Regions from separate parts of the Homo sapiens genome. Here region 1 is linked to region 2. Evidence: promoter capture Hi-C in 16 types of primary human blood cells and fetal thymus (Javierre and others, 2016). All regions are on one chromosome and are shown on one strand. The core of a region is centred on a gene start or on the middle of the fragment in contact, and the rest is flanking DNA. Distances in the headings are between cores, read along the strand shown.

Region 1 (4,972 bases), core at 1,926-4,425, 520 kb after region 2:
TTGTACTATATTTAACCAGTGAATTACTTAAAATATTTAGGTTTTTTCACCTTTACACACAATGCTGTAATAAACATCCTTTTATACAAATCTTTGCATACTTTTATATTATACCAATATAAATTTTAAAAAGTGGGATTTTTATGTAATGGAAATATGCATTTTTTTTCCAGATTTCAGGCCTGTTTTTTATTAACGAATATTCCTTATTGCAGTACAACTTGCATACAGAAAAGTAGATATATCATAATTATATAGCTTGATAATCATATGCTCTAGGCCCTGACTCACAGGGGGCGAGGAGGAGGTGGTTAGTCATGCAGATTTGCCTATGGAAAGACTGAGCCCAGCAGGGAAGGGCCTGGCTAAGTCAGGGCTGGAGGGAACATACTTGTGTTACCAAGTGGAACACAGCTGTGTAACAAAGTGTTACAAAGTGAACACACCTTTGTAACCCACCCAAGTCAAGAATCAGAATATTACTGGAAATCCAGAAGCCATTTCATGTCCAGTTTTACTTACTATCCTTCTGAAGGGTAATTACTTCCTGACTTCTACAGATATAGATTCATTTTGCCTGGTTTTAAACTTTATAGAAACAGGATTATGCAATATGCAGTTTCTGGCTTCTTTTTGGTACATATGTTTAAAATATTTGAGAGTGAAATATGGAATGAAGATGTTTCATTCCTAATGTATTCTTGACCTCTCAGCATAATTTGACACCATTGACCATCCCTCCATTTTTAAATTTTTCTTCTTTCTCTTCCATGGGAGTCATCTCCTGGCTTTCCTCCTATCTTCTGGCTGCTCCTTCTCCTATTCCAGAGCCTTTCTTTTCCCTTGCCTTAAATAGTTGATGCATTTAAGGTTCAGTCCTAGACAACCTCAGCTAAATTCATGGCTTCTGTTATCATCTATATCAGTTATCTGTTATCTATATCTATATTTATATCTATATCTATATCTATATCTATATCTATATCTATATCTATATCTATATCTGTTATCATCTAAGTCAATACATCTATCCCAAATAAATTCTCTGAGATTTAGACTCAAATATCCAACTTGGTCCCATCACTTGCATGTTTCAAAACTCAACATCCCAAAACTGAACAAACAATTTTCCCTGCTACAAATTGCTCCAGATCTGAGATTTTTCCAGGGTTTCTGATCTCAGTGAAAACTATCACCAGCTGTGGCTTTCACAACGTAGAAGCCCAGTAGTCATCCTTGACATTTCTCTCTCAGCATACCCTACAGCCACTAAATTATTAAGTTCTGACAACTCTTCCTTTTAAATAGTTTAAGTAACTGTTCACTTTTCACCATTATCATTGCTAGCATTCAGATCCAAGCTACCACCACCTTTTGCTTAGCTTATAGCCTCCCAACTAATTTCCAAACAGATTAATGCGCTGCTTAAGGCTTTTTTTTTGGTTTTTATATTACATTGAAGAATTTCCTTGAATTAACAAATAAAACCTATGTTAATCAAGCCTCTTCCTACTTCTTTTTGTTGAGACACAGTCTGGCTCTGTTGCCCAGGCTGGAGTGCAGTGGCGCTATCTTGGCTCACTGCAACCTCTGCTTCCTGGATTCAAGTGATTCTCATGCCTCAGCCACCCAAGCAGCTGGGCTTACAGGCATGTGCCACCATGCCCAGCTAATTTTTGTATTTTTAATAGAGATGGGTTTTTGCCATGTTGGCCAGGATGTTCTCTAACTCCTGGTCTCAAGTGATCCATCTGCCTTGGCCTTCCAAAGTGCTGGAATTACAGGTGTGAGCCCCCACGCCTGGCCCCGTTTCTACTTCTTGAGTTTTTCTCTTCTCCTTGTCCTCTCCTTACTCCAGACTTTCTCTGCACATGCCTTAAAAGGGTCAGAAACAGTGTTAAAAGTTGAGCAATTATATCCAACATAGTTAGCTGGAAGATGAAAGTAAGAAAATAGTATAAGAGCAATTTGGTAGGAACAAAAATCTTTCAAATATGGGGTCTGTTTTGGAGGTGCGGGTGAAGGTAGAAAATTCAGAATGTAACGAGATAAGGGAATAATTATTTACAAACTGTTCCAAGCTGCTTAAGAGGCCAATTAGCATAATGACTAGTAGTATAGGCTTTGCAATCCAACAAACCCATGTTCTGATCATGATTTGGCCACTTAGAGCCTGCATGACTTTGGTGACTCATAACACCTCTAAGCAAGAATTCCCACAACAAAGCAATACCTTATCCCTCACCAGGATTAAGTTATATACATCTCATATTTGGTACAATTATTAGCACATAGTTAAACGTTAAATGTCAGGCAAATTATCATTAGGAAGAAAATAAGGCTATAATAATATTGCTATATATCAAGCAGGATTAACTCATGCTTAAGCGATGCTAAACATAATTAGCGTCCTTAGGGCATATTCTCCTAAGAGGTTTATGGACTCTGGTTACTTGGTGCTTTCCCCTCTGGATCCAAGGCTAGATAAGTTTCCAGGTAACTGTGGGCTCAGGATGAACTAAGCATATATTTACTCTTACTGAGTCCTATTTTTTTAATTAAAATGTGTTTTACTTCAGCCAGTTTGCTTCCTTTTCTCAGAATGAATGCCTGAAAGTTGGATTTTCCCTTATCTTTGTAGTCAGAATTTTGTGACCTCCTTGGGGATAAGAAACCAATATTTTCTATATAGCTAAGTCAACATTATCAAGACAAGGCAAATCTAACTATTGTGTTAGTGCCTGCTTTTATTATAAATAGAGAACAGAGCTGGTGATGCTTATCTCTTTCTTTACTGACCTTGAAAGGTATACATACACAAGCAATCAGAACCCAAATTAAGAAATAATGACAAGAATAAGAGAAAACTAAAATTAATATTTTAATTATGTAAGCATTTTAATTTTCATTATAAAAAAGGATACATGATTTAGTGAAAATAACAGATTGGAATTAAAATGGCAGCATTCTGGCTTTGCCTCCAGTACTGATTATAAAGAATATAATCTTGAAAAAGTCATTTATTTTCTCTGGTCCTCAAATTTTTCATATGTAATCAAAGGGTTAAAATTTATTATCTTATCAAAATTCTATGAGTATATACCTATACATATAAAAGAAATGAAGAGAATGTATATATATGTGTATGCATATATGTTATATATTCATTTGCATACCCCCAAACACCCCTATATATAAATCTTAGTTTTATATGGGAAAGTAGACTATAAATAAGGGGGCTGAAATAGGTTATAGGTAAAGTCTAGTTCTATGGTGACAGCATTTGTTTATAGCATCAAAATGCCCATATTGTCATTCATCCAAGGCAAATAAGCAGTGGGAAGCTGTTAGAAATGCAAATTTTGGGCCCTACCTCGTAGAAGGAGAGGCCTAGTGATGTGTGTTGCAACCTGCCCTCTGGGTGATTCTGATAAACACTAAAATGTAAGAACCACTATATTTGAACATTCCCAGGGCAGTGAACTATAGGCTAGAGTCCTAGGCAGAAGTAAAGAGCAAGTAATTAAAGGGGAAAAAGGAGGTTACTCTACAGAGAACTTGGTGGCAGAGGTGTTAGGAACAGAGGTTGATGAGACATAGCAGTGGGGACAGGGGAATATGATGGCAGTAGGGAAGCGGTGTGGCTTTAAGAATACAGAGCAGAGGTCCAAGCAGCAATCAAAAAGCAGTAGCCACGTGGTCCTCTGTTAAATCATTTGTTCTCATGCAGTAATTTCTCCTAGTACACTAAAACTGCTGGCTTTAGAACCTATTCTCCTACAGTGGATCCTACAGGAGGACAATCGTCCTCAGTCTTCAGCCACAGCTACTCTTCACCCCCACAGCTATTTACTGGAGAAACCTGAGATACGAAAAATTAAGGCTTCTCAAGTGGATCCTGTATATATTCTCCAGACCCTTTCCAACAACTCAAGAGTCCCCTGATTCCCATTTTAACTCTCCCCTCGTTGGCAGCCAAGAGTGTGTGTATGCTCAGGGAAAGTAATAAAACCACTGCAGTTTTTTACTGGGCTAGAGGTGAGGCAGGCCAGAGAAAGTCGCAGGGGTGAGAATAAGCCTGTGGAAGCGACAAGGCAAGAACTCAGCATGGAGACTCTTCAGGAGGCTTATAGACGCCGTGTTGTCATCCAGGACGTTCCCCTGAGAGGGGAATCCCCGGCTTTGCAACTTCCTGGCCAGCGTGAGGGCCACCAGCCGGCTGTAACCTTTCCTGCGATGTTCTGGCAGGGTGTAGCCATGGCACATGGTGGCAAACTGGTCTGTGATGGACCAGGAGACCGGGTTTCCCTTCTCATCCCGGACACACACACTAGGGAAGCAGGAGATGAGGTTGGCGATGTACCGGAGACATTGTTCATTGCCTCCCCGGGACCAAGTCCGGTTGAGTAGATCCGCATTGGCAACACTCAGGTAGGTTAGTCGTGGGGAAGGCCCCTTGCTAGACCAGAATGACACAAAAACAAATAGGACCTCAGACTCATGTGGTTATACATAACTACACATTTTTTTTTTCGAGACACAGTCTTGCTCTGTCGCCCAGGCTGGAGTGCAGTGGCGTGATCTCTGCTCACTGCAACCTCTGCCTCCCGGGTTCAAGCAATTCTCCTGCCTCAGCCTCCCAAGTAGCTGGGATTACAGGCACCCGTCACCATCCCAGCTAATTTTTGTATTTTTAGTAGAGACGGGATTTCACGATGTTGGCCAGGCTGTTCTCGAACTCCTGACCTCGTGATTCACCCCTCCCGGCCTCCCAAAGAGCTGAGATTATAGGCGTGAGCCACCATGCCCGACCTATAACTACTCTTTTCATATTGGTTCAAACTGAGAAACCATCCCTGAGAGGGCACCTAAGATTTTCAGTGAGTTAGAATCCACCATTCCCGATTTACCAACACCTTTCCGGGTTTCATTTCTGAGAAGACAAAACACTTATTACATCAAATTTAAGTCG
Region 2 (4,872 bases), core at 1,415-3,914:
ACAAAAAACAGCTTAACAACTTAACTGGGGACATTTTGTTCATGCAGAGGCACCCTCAGTGGTCCAATGGGAGTTACTCTTCTTATTCCTTGACCAGCAGAGGGTAAGTATAATTTGTGTGTCTTTATTATCCAGGGTGATGAGGTTTTTGTTAAACCTAAATTTTGTAGAACCCAAGTCACTCACTAATTGTGTAACTAAATGTAGAATTAGACTGTAAAGGGAAAATAAAGAAGGATAAAATATTTTCTTCAGCATACTAGTGTTAGCTTTAGTTTCCTCAGGACAAAGTTTCTTATTAAATCAACAAAATTTTGGTCCAGAAACCTTATAATATGCAAGCTTCAAATGTATTGAGATTTATCTGTGCTTCAGTTAAAAAAAATACTATACTCAGAAAACACATGAGAACTATTGTCATAAAACATTCATAGCATTTATTTTATTCATTTGTCATATATTTATTTGCATGTCTTTTCAAAAATAATTTGAGTTTCTTAAGGCAGTGAAAATGTTTTATTTATTTGTTTTCTAAACATCTACAGCGACTAGGAGGTGGCCATGAGATCAGTGAATCCAAGTATTCCTGCATAATTCTATTGTTTGTGATTTAAAATTCTTAATATATTCAAAAAAAGCAATTTAAAGTGTATGTATTCTTACGTCCAAATACCAAATGTTGAAAGGCATACTCTATTTCTGTTTTGTGGTGTAGATCCTGTAGAATGTGTTTAATATGTTGGACATTTATAATACAGGATCGATGTTTACCTGTTCAAAAAAAGGAGCAGTTTCCACATTCTCCATGGGATTAGACCTGGGTCACAAAGTCCCCTAAGTGAATCACCTGTAATACTGTCATGTTGCTGTTTGATTTTTCACTCTTTGGATTTAACAAATAAGTATTCAAAATAAAATTTCTAAATGACTTTAGTCCTTGCAGTAAGGCAGCAATATTGCACCCTTGTCATGTCTTTGGAAAGAGCTAAAATTAAAAATCAATGAGACATTTATCTTCTTTGCTCTTCTTTCTTTGTGTTTATTCACAGAAGTTCTGATAACAAAGAAAGCATAATAATATATAAATTATTTCTAATGAAATTTGGGTTTTGGTTTCAGTGCCCAATTAGAACTTTGTCTCATCTACAACAATCAAATGCCCTATCTTTTTCACAGCTGTACCACAGCAACTAGAAAAGTAACAGGCACATGGTAGGTGTTTGATTAATATCTGTTCAATTAATCTTACATAGGGATGGGTTTAAATAATCTTATACTATGTCAAATGATAGTTAAATCCTCTATTCAGTGAACCCCAGTAAGTCCTTAGCTTTTAGTATAAATTCTTAGCTTTTTTTTTTGAGACAGTGTCTCACTCTGTCACCCAGGCTGGAGTACAGCGGCATGATCATGGCTCACTGCAGCCTCGACCTCCCAGGGCTCAGGAGATCTGCCCACCACAGCATCCCAGTGTAGCTGAGACTACAGGCGTGTGTCACCACTCCTGGCTAATATTTGTATTTTTGTAGAGATGGGGTTTCACCGTGTTGCCCAGACTGGTCTTGAACTCTGGAGCTCAAGCGCTCTGTCTGTCTCGGCCCCCAAAAGTGCTGAGACTACAGGCATGAGTCACTGCATCTAGTCAAGTCCTTTACTTTTAATTCATATTTTATCAGTGAAGAATTTGGTTGTAGAAGGGAAAAATTATTGATCATATCTCTTTATCACTTTGCCCAGGAAGCCTTGCCACAATTCTGATTATTTGTACATGTTTCAGTTGCAACACCTTTGTAAATAACATTCTCATAAATGTAAAATAAGGATGACTAATATTAACTGGGGCTTCTTTACACCCAGATTCTTAGTGCTCTTTATGAGTATAGTAAGAGAGATTCAATGGGTCATTATTCCTTATGGGGTCTGGGGAACAATATCAACTCTTTATCGTATATCTGCTATAGTCGACTTTGGAAAACTTACAAATTAACTCAGAAATAACTTCTCACTACATAGAAAATAACAACAAACAAACAGAGAAATGCATTCTAGGTTTATAACATTGAATGTTTTTGCACTGACATTCACAAATCCTACTTGAGGGGACAGACCTTTCTTTGTGGTACAGCTAAGCTCGATAGGATAATATCCATAAACACCAGAATACTGTCATGATTTATGTTCATACATAATTTAAGTAAAGAAGGTATGGATTATAAAATTACCTGACAAATCTGGATCTCAACATTTTTATATGTAAAATTAAATATTCTGTATGATAATTTCAGTCTAAAGTTCTGTGGTTTTGATTTCTTATTACATTGAGATTCATTGTTAATACTGGGGCCATTAAAATAGTGAATGGAATTATATAAAACTAGTACTCCTGGGGTATCAAGTGAATTGCTGCAGGACTATTTCGGATCTTGGTCACTTAGCAATTTATACCCATATTCTTGTAACTGTTAAAGTTTCTTAAAGAAACTGACTGCAAGAGAAATCAGCAGATGTAACTTTTGTGTGACAATGCAGCTTTTTCTAGTCACTATCTCTTTGAATATGGCACTATGCACCAAGCATAGAAATGTTCTCACTCTTAATAAGCTTCAGTAGTCAAAACTATGCAGAAGAATTCTTTAAATGTAAGGGTTTTTTTTTCTTGTTTCAACAACAGCTGAGTCAGACAGATGATCTGTACACTGTTTTATACCAAGAAATCATTTACAATGAAGATCCTTCTCTTTTTCTGTATTTTGCTTTTCTTTGGAGTCCTTATTCCACCAGGTAATATGAATATTATTGCTAGAGGGGTCAAGGGGCCAGCATTAAAGTCGGGGAGCTGGGTTATTTAAAGTAGAATTGACATTATAAAACATTTTATTAATACCATCATCATGTTACATTACATTTATTCACAGTTCTCAGGTAAAAATATTTGAATAATTTTTCAAGCACAGCATCCTAGAAAAGGCTGTAATTCACCTTAATTACATGAAAATATACATTCATATATATGCATATATGTAAATGATTAGAAGAAAATAATGCTACGTTGATTTCACAGATCCATGAAATGTGTATTTATTCAACACTCAAATTTAACTGAATTTGATCTATTAATAGATTAGAAAAAACTGGGAAAGTTATGAATTATGCTTGGAAATCATTGATCCCCACAGTGATATTTATAGCAGAGGTTAATCAGATAAAATGTCTTGCTAAAAGTTTCAGATTGTATTTTATTAACAATTGAGACAAGCTGCACTTGTCTACTGCTCACTTCCAGTTAAATTCTCCTTTTTCTTTATCTTGCTGCTTTCTCTGATTATCAAGATATCTTTCAGTATTGAGATCAGAGGAGGTAACCTTAAAATAAATCTGTAGTAACTCATTATTTTACTGTTATTCTGCCCTAACATTTAAACATAAATAGCTTTTTAGCTAATAATTTCTCACCAAAAGGGGACAAGGAGGTGAACTTCAGTTAATAATGTAAACCAACAAGGGAGTTAATTTAAATCAGATAATAATTTTTCTTCTTTATAAAAATTAATTAAAGTGTGCTCATTAGAATTCTCTCTATATTTAGAACTTTTCTGAGGTACAAAGAATTATACAGATTTCAATAAACACTGATAGGTTTTCTTCATAATAATGATTTTAATAGCTAGCATTTGTTCAGCCTTTTGCCTGTATTAATTTATTTTTCCTAACAATAGCCATGCAAGGTGAACTTATTAATAGCCAAGTCATTTATTCATTTAACTGGATTTTTAAACATATGTACTATATGTTTATCATTTTGTAAAACCTTTTATAATATATAGGACCATTAAATAGAGGCAACTACATTTGTGTCCTTATTTCTGAAAATATTTTTCCTCCTACTTTTAAAGTAATTTTTTCACTTTACAGTGAGCTCTTAACAACCTCTTAGCACTCTTATGAAATTATTGACAACCATATGTAGACTGAAACTTGAAAAAATGTACTCAAAGACAAATACATCTTCCACAATATTTGAAAAGGCCCGACATGGGACAGAGAAAATCAGCACAGGTAAAACAAAATAAGTAGAATTGTGTCTTGCACATTTTAATCAATACTTTTTGACTGAAATGAAGTAAATATTCTGAGTATATTCTCTACCTCAGTCCCTGTTTACTTATATGTTCTTGTCTTTCACCTCATAGCTTTATGAAGACTGAATTTCATGTTTAAAACAAGAAAGAAATCTTATTTTAAGGTTGTAGAGGCCGATTTTTTTGATAAAATGCTGGCTAGACAAATGTCCTTTTATCATTTCCATGAAGAAAGGTTTTCTAACCATTGTTCTCAGCAACATTATTACTTTTTAAAATGTTTTAATGTAATTGTGCTTAGGAATTATACTGTTGTCTCAGTTTCCCTCCTACTCAACAGCTGGACATATTTATTTTTTTTTTTTTGAGACGGAGTTTCACTCTTGTTGCCCAGGCTGGAGTGCAATGACACTATCTTGGATCACTGCAACCACCGTCTCCCGGGTTCAAGCAATTCTCCTGCTTCAGCCTCCGGAGTAGCTGGGATTACAGGCTCCCACCACCACGCCCCGCTAATTTTTTGTATTTTTAGTAGAGACAGGGTTTCACCATGTTGGCTAGGCTGGTAGCGAACTCCTGACCTGAGGTGATCTACCTGCCACGGCCTCCCAAAATGCTGGGATTACAGGTGTGAGCCACCACGCCTGGCCAAGGCAAAACTATTTTTATCAATCACTACTGTTCAAAATACTGATATTTTTGGATATAAAAAGTATATTGTTATATGAAAAGAATGATAAAGGTGTTCTGTTTATTTGAAAGCACGGTTTAATTAAGATAACTCAAAAAGGCA

What was found. The method cuts DNA at HindIII sites, captures the fragments that hold promoters and counts their contacts. A CHiCAGO score of 5 or more calls a contact.
Region 1: a fragment that was not itself captured here is called in contact with the fragment with the promoter of DEFB112 in region 2 in 1 of 17 cell types (erythroblasts); the score reaches 6.0 in erythroblasts.

What each region holds. Positions count from the first base shown.
Region 1 is chr6:49,525,975-49,530,946 of GRCh38, reverse strand. It overlaps GLYATL3 (glycine-N-acyltransferase like 3), which reads right to left. Exons shown (of 6, transcript NM_001010904.2): 6 at 2,869-4,459. The coding sequence ends at 4,033. Among named protein-coding and RNA genes, the nearest start is that of C6orf141, 22 kb to the left of the region's middle. The HindIII fragment of the contact is 8,083 bases long and covers 1-4,972 here.
Region 2 is chr6:50,047,721-50,052,592 of GRCh38, reverse strand. It overlaps DEFB112 (defensin beta 112), which reads left to right and starts at 2,664. Exons shown (of 2, transcript NM_001369057.2): 1 at 2,664-2,781. The coding sequence starts at 2,724. The HindIII fragment of the contact is 4,636 bases long and covers 2,604-4,872 here.